Linked DNA regions of Homo sapiens: region 1 is linked to region 2. The links are contacts of gene promoters, found by promoter capture Hi-C in human tissues and cell types (Jung and others, 2019). All regions are on one chromosome and are shown on one strand. The core of a region is centred on a gene start or on the middle of the fragment in contact, and the rest is flanking DNA. Distances in the headings are between cores, read along the strand shown. Region 1 overlaps FAM76A (family with sequence similarity 76 member A). Region 2 holds the start of SYTL1 (synaptotagmin like 1).

Evidence for each region. Contacts are between HindIII fragments. The study calls those that stand out against the background at their distance.
Region 1: a fragment that was not itself captured here is called in contact with the fragment with the promoter of SYTL1 in region 2 in 1 of the 25 tissues and cell types used here (dorsolateral prefrontal cortex).

Annotation. Positions count from the first base shown.
Region 1 is chr1:27,760,469-27,763,592 of GRCh38, reverse strand. FAM76A (family with sequence similarity 76 member A) reads right to left here. Exons shown (of 9, transcript NM_152660.3): 9 at 477-3,098. The coding sequence ends at 3,012. Among named protein-coding and RNA genes, the nearest start is that of STX12, 11 kb to the left of the region's middle. The HindIII fragment of the contact is 6,157 bases long and covers 1-3,124 here.
Region 2 is chr1:27,339,937-27,343,271 of GRCh38, reverse strand. It overlaps SYTL1 (synaptotagmin like 1), which reads right to left and starts at 1,250. Exons shown (of 15, transcript NM_001193308.2): 1 at 1,122-1,250. RefSeq lists enhancers at 1-615, 790-839, 1,370-1,629. The HindIII fragment of the contact is 14,194 bases long and covers 1-3,335 here.

The sequences.
Region 1 (3,124 bases), core at 397-2,896, 420 kb before region 2:
ACAGAATCACCAAGAGGCTGGGTGTGGTAGCTCATGCCTGTAATCCTAGCACTTTGGGAGGCTGATGAGGTGGGTGGATGGCTTGAGTCCAGGAGTTGGAGACCAGCCTGGATGGCAAAACCCTATCTTCACAAAAAATACAAAAATTAGCTGGGTATGGTGGCGTGCATCTGTAGTCCCAGCTACTTGGGAGGCTGAGGTGGGAGAATCCCCAGGAAGTCGGGGCTGCAGTGATCTACTTGCCACTGTACTCCAGCCTGGATGACTGAGTGAGACTCTGTCTCAAAACAGTCATAGAAGAGAGAAAGAAAGAGTTTATTCTCTAATGGACAGGAAATTCCCAATTAGCAGTTAGGCTTTTAATTTTTTAAGTCTATAAGCAAGACAAACTTTTCTAGGCTGAAGGGCTGAAGGGGATAACGGGGTATGTCTACTGGTAAACAGCAAGAAATAAAAACAAAATCCAACAATTACACTTGAGTCAATATGAATTTTTATTAACACACATTTGTCAAAGTCTGTACAAACCAAAACATTCCTGTGTTTTAAAATGTCCATTATTACAAACATACAAAGAAACAAAAGGTGTTACCAAAAGTTAGCTACTCAATTTCATGGTAAAACAGTGTCATGATTTTTAAAAATCAAAATTTCAAGACTGAGGTTTCTTCTTTCCCTTTTTGGAACTTATGGAAAGTTAGAAAACGTGTGAATTTGCTTTATATTAAATGCCAAGACCTTAAAAAAAGATTTAGTATAAAACTAAGTATGTTTTTATATTGTCATACATCATGTAACAGAATTTCAGTCCTTAAAATTAAAAAAAAACACCATGACTGTCATTTCCCCCTAATTTTTCTCCCATAGTCAATGCAAATGCATCTGAAAAATATTATGACAGTTTATCTTTACCTAAAAGCTTCTCATTCAAAAACTTTACAAAACTATTTAGCACTGCCATTTCCCTTGCTTAGAAGGGAAAATTATATCCCCTAGTAGGGTGATATATAAGCGACATGGTCCACTGTATCCCTTATCAGAAGGAAACCACCATTTCCACATCTCTGTCCAATTATGTGTAGGACTCCATTTATGAGAATGCTATCACAAATTATAGAGCATCTGCTTCCAGGAAACGCCTAGAAGTTAAATTTAGTACTATAATTTTTTGGTAGACTGAGGTACAAATGTTATCTGCCCTCATTATTATTTCTAACTCTAGTACCCCCTGCATAAATGATTCTAGGGTAGTTGGTTTTGTTGTTTCATGGCACACATGACACACCCTAATTCCTTTCACAAACATCACATAGAGGACCTGAGAGTATGCCTAGAAATGTAAATCTATCCCCTTTCCTGGAAAAGTAAATCCATATTCCTACAGGGTTAAGAAGGGAAGATAGGCAGGGCATACATAACTCTGGTTGAGGCAAAGTGCTTCTGAGAAGCACCTGTTTTCAATACATATCCATGAAAAGCAGGGAGTGTATGGGCTCGGGTGGGTGAGGAGTGGGGAGAAGGTATAGTGATACCACTTTTCCCAGACTCAAGAGTCCTTACTAGAGCAGCTCATGCTGACCCCAAAAATGCTCTGTAGTTCAAATATTATTCCTTTTTTTTTTTTTTTTGAGACGGAGTCTCACTCCATTGCCCAGGCTGCAGTGCAGTGTTGCGATTTCAGCTCATTGCAACCTCTGCCTCCCGGGATTCGAGCAGTTCTCCTGCCTCAGCCTCCTGGGTAGCTGGGATTACAGGTGCATGCCACCAGGCCCGGCTAATTTTTGTATTTTTTTAGTACAGATGGGGTTTTACCATGTTGGCCAGGATGGTCTCAAACTCCTAACCTCAAATGATCCACCCGCCTTGGCCTCCCAAATTGCTGGTATTACAGGCGTGAGCCACCGCACCCGACCATATTATTCCATTTTTAATCTGTTCATTCATGTAAAAAAACATTCTCTGACAGCAGCCCAGTATGACAACTGATATAAGCAAATAAAGGATTTTATTTTTTAAAGAAGTGGCAGTGTGAGAATTTAAAATCAATCACATAAAACAATCAGGAAAGGGGTGGGGAGAGAAGTGTCCAGTACAACCTGGACAACCTTGCTTTCTGCCCTTACTTAAAAAGACAGACGGTTCAAATCTTTGCTACCTCCCTTAAGTATCTCCATAAATGCTCTTCCAAGAAATCCTCCAAAAGGCACTTAGCTCCATACTTATGCATTGAATTGTTTCACCTTAGCAATCAGTTTTTAAGACTCCAAGGTAACAAGAAAGAAAAGATCTGATTCTTTTACTAAAAGCTAGTGAATAGGACTGTTTTTTTTTCAAGAGGCATCACTTTTACAAGAACTAGCTAGACCACCATTATTCCTTTATCAAGAAAAAGTTTCTTTTTTAAAAAATAAATAAAACTCTGGCTATACATAGTACAAAGTTCATACATAATACATCTGGAAAAAAACCGAAGAGTATACCCTGAAGCAAAAGGTTTATTGGAGAGAGAAAGCCTCTTCCATTATACCAAGTCTGAAGATGGCAGTTTTCAAAGTTCAGAGGGTGGCAGTGATATATAATTAATGCCAAACTGTTTGCTCATGGGTATGGCAGGATGCAATGAAGGACCAAAAAAAAAAAAAAAAACAAAAAACAAATCATTCTGCACATTACACTGAGCAGTGACCACCACAAAAAAAAAAAAAAAAAAAAAAAGAAAAAAGAAAAAAAAAGAATAGAACCAAAATAGAGAGAAGAGGAAGAAGAAAAAGAAAAGTCCTAATAGTGAGAGAAAGAGAGCGAGCTTGAAATCCCAAACACTCAAGCATGCAGTCTAACACAGCACAAACCAGGTGTTTCCATTCAGCCCACTGCAATCGCACAAAGAAGGATAACTGTAATAAAATAGAGATTTCTTAAGAAAGCTTGCAATTCCCACAGAACAGCCAGGTCTCCAACCCTAACCCTGGACAACTCCATTTGCTGTTGCTAGGGAGCCTCCTTGAGGTCTGTCATGGAGAGGTTATAGCTCCTGACTTCTCTGACTTCTTGCTCTTGGACAAAGCAGCTGCCTGCTTCAGGAGCTCTCGGTTTTTGGCCTAAAGAAAAAAAAAATCAGTGCAAG
Region 2 (3,335 bases), core at 1-2,500:
ACAGTGACTCCGGAAAGAAAGCATTTGCCCAGCGCTGAGGGGCATGTAGACGTGGCAAGGGGCCCATGACTTGGTCAGGGCTGTGTCCTGAGCCCACTGGGCGGCCTCTCCTCTCTTCCCCGCCCCTTCCATTGCCACGGCTCCAGGTGGGGCTGAGACCGGCGGAGGCAGCTTGGCGGGCAGGTCCTGGCTTGTGTCCGCCGCCTGCTATGCTCTGTCCCCTCCCAGCTGAGTCAGTGGCCGAGCCCCAGCGATCCCTCTTGACACCCTCAGGAGCAGAAGGCCTCAGCACGGCTGCACGGTGTGCATTCACTCTGTGGATACCTGTGTGCTCCACAACAGCAGTTTCCCTGGACTTCTGTGGCCAACGTGTGAGCCCACGTTCGGCCTCCCCTGTGGATTGGGGTGTGAGCCCACGTTCGGCCTCCCCTGTGGATTGGGGTGTGAGCCCACGTCCCTCTCTGTGCCCTGTTGTGTGGCTGTGTGGGTCCGAGTCTGGTGGGCATGTCTGCGTTGCGTGAGTCTGTGAGCTGTGTAGTTGCTGTGTGTCTTTGTGTCCTGTTGCAGTGTGATGCTGCATGGTGACTATATTGTCTGTGTGGTGTGTTCAGTGACTTTCTAGGTGACAGCGCCGTGTGGGGTGTGTACAGTATGCATTGTGCATTTCCTCCTGTGCTGTATGTGTGACTGGGCTGTGTGCTGTGGGGTGTCCCCTGGTGCCTTGGGGGCCACCAGGTGTGTGTGTCTGAGTGTGGATGGAGGCCGGGGGGACGTTCGGCAGAACTGAGCCTATTTCTGTCCTTCAGGCCTGCCTGAGCTGGGCCATGGGCATCAGCCCAGCGTCCTCAGCAGTGCCCCCTCCCTGAAGTCCCCTCTCCTACCAACCAGAGGCAGAATCTCCTACCAGAGTTAGGTAGGAGTTTGGTCTTCTCTGCTGTTTTGACACGGTGGGACAGACCCATTGGTCAAGAGGAGGGTCTGTCCATCTGTCCAGCTGTTCCAGTTCCAGACATGTGCCCACCTCCCCCAACCCCAAGGTGCTGGAGGGTGCTCAGGATACCAGGTGGCAGTGCCTGCGTCTCTGGACCCTGGCAGGGGACCCTGGCACCGACACGTGTTACCTGTAGGGGTCCAGTATGGGAGGACACCTTCGCAGGTGGCTCCAGCTCCCCTGGCAGCCGAGTTTCAGGGACCGGGAGAAGAGCCGTGAGGGAAGAAGGCTGACTCAACAGGCAGCCCAGCCAGCAGCTGCCCCACACGGAGGAGGAGGAAACACCTCGGCAGGGCCTGATGCAAAACCGGGCCTGGACTCCCAGCGCCCGGGGGTGCGCCCCCGCAGCCGACTGGAGAGGCCCAGCTTGGCCCCAGCTCCACTGAGCAGGCCCTCTAGAACGGGTAGCAGCCCCACCTTGCCCACAACGGGGCTGATAGGAACTCGCTTTGAAAGCAAGTTAGAAACCTTTCTTTTCCAGCCCCAAGGGGAATGGCAGGATGGCAGACTTTGCAGTTAGACCACCCTGTGCAGAGTCCCTGCTCTGCCAGTGGGTGTGTGATGTGACCTTAAGCAGGTCTCTTCCATTTCTTCTGATGCAAACTGTGGGTAGCAGAGTGCAAGGAGCCTATACTAAGGGAAGTGAAAGTGCCCGGTGCGAGCTGGCATAGTCGGGGTGAGGTGTCCCCACTCCAGCATAGCCTAATGCCCACGGCCATCTCAGCAGCTGCTGCCCTCTATATCCACATGCACTTCTGGGACATGCTGGCAGAGCAGCCCTCTCTGTCCCCTCTGCTGTCCTGAGCCCCATCTGTTTGAGGAGGCCTGAACTCTTCTAGTGCCAAGGTGAGGGTCCCACACCCTCTGTCTATGTGGAGCCCCCCTGAACTCACCCCATTCTACACCTAGATTCTGCCCACCCTGAGATTAGAAGGTTTGGGCCCTAGATTACATTGGCTTCAGGACCATGAACCTCCTGGGTTGTCTTGGGCACAAGAGGCCACACCAAAGCTTTCTGACTCCCCCCAAGTCCACTTCACTTCCCATGGCCTGCCCTGGCCCAACCCCCTCCCCTGAACCTAGGGCCATGGATTAAAGATTAGTGGGCTCCTCATAGACCCCTGGGAGAGGCAGGACAAGGGGTGGATTCTAAACAAAACCAGTCTGGGCACAGTGACTCATGCCTGTAATCCCAGTACTTTAAGAGGTCGAGGTGGGCGGATCACTCTAGGACAGGAGTTTGAGACCAGTCTGGCTAATATAGTGAAACCCCGTCTCTACTCAAAATACAAAAATTAACCGGGCATGGTGGCAGGTGCTTGCAGTCCCAGTTACTCGGGAGGCCGAGGCAGGAGAATCGCTTGAACCCAGGAGGCGGAGGTTGCAGTGAGCCGAGATCGCACCACTGCACTCCAGCCTGGGCAACACAGCGAGACTCCGTCTCAGAAAAGCAAACAAGGCTGGGCGTGGTAGCTTACACCTGTAATCCCAGCACTTTGGGAGGCCGAGACGGGTGGATCACGAGGTCAGGAGATCAAGACCATCCTGGCTAACACGGTGAAAACCCATCTCTACTAAAAATACAAAAAAAATTAGCTGGGCGTGGTGGCGGCTGCCTGTAGTCCCAGCTATTTCCCGAGTAGCTGAGGCAGGAGAATGGCATGAACCTGGGAGGTGGAGCTTGCAGTGAGCCGAGATCGCACCACTGCACTCCAGCCTGGGCGACAGAGCGAGACTCCGTCACAAAAAAAAAAAGAAAAGAAAAGAAAAGAAAACTAAACACCCACTCTTCCTTCCTGTAATCAGAACCGACTCCCACCACCACTGAGAGACAGAGGACCCTCCTCCACCTCAGAACCACAGTGGAGGCTTCCCTACTTATTTTTTGCAAATTAATCTTATTTTTCTCATCTGTTAAATGGGGGTAATCTCTCCTTAGAGGGTTTTCACTAAAATTCAGTGAGATCCTTGCAGACTTTTTTTTTTCTTTTTTTTAGATGGAGTCTTGCTCTGTCGCCCAGGCTGGCTTGGCTCACTGCAGCCTCCGCCTCCTGGGTTCAAGTGATTCTCATGCCTCAGCCTCCCGAGTAGCTGGCACTACAGGCGCCCGCCACCACGCCTGGCTAATTTTTGTATTTTGAGTAGAGATGGGGTTTCACCATGTTGGACAGGCTGGGCTCGAACTCCTGGTCTCATGTGATCTGCCTGCCTCAGCCTCCCAAAGTGCTAGGACTACAGGCGTGAGCCACCTTGCCCAGACCCCAGTACTCTTGATTAATGCATTTATGCACCCACACATGCAATACCCATGGAGCAGCTGCTGTGGGACCATTACTGTGATGCT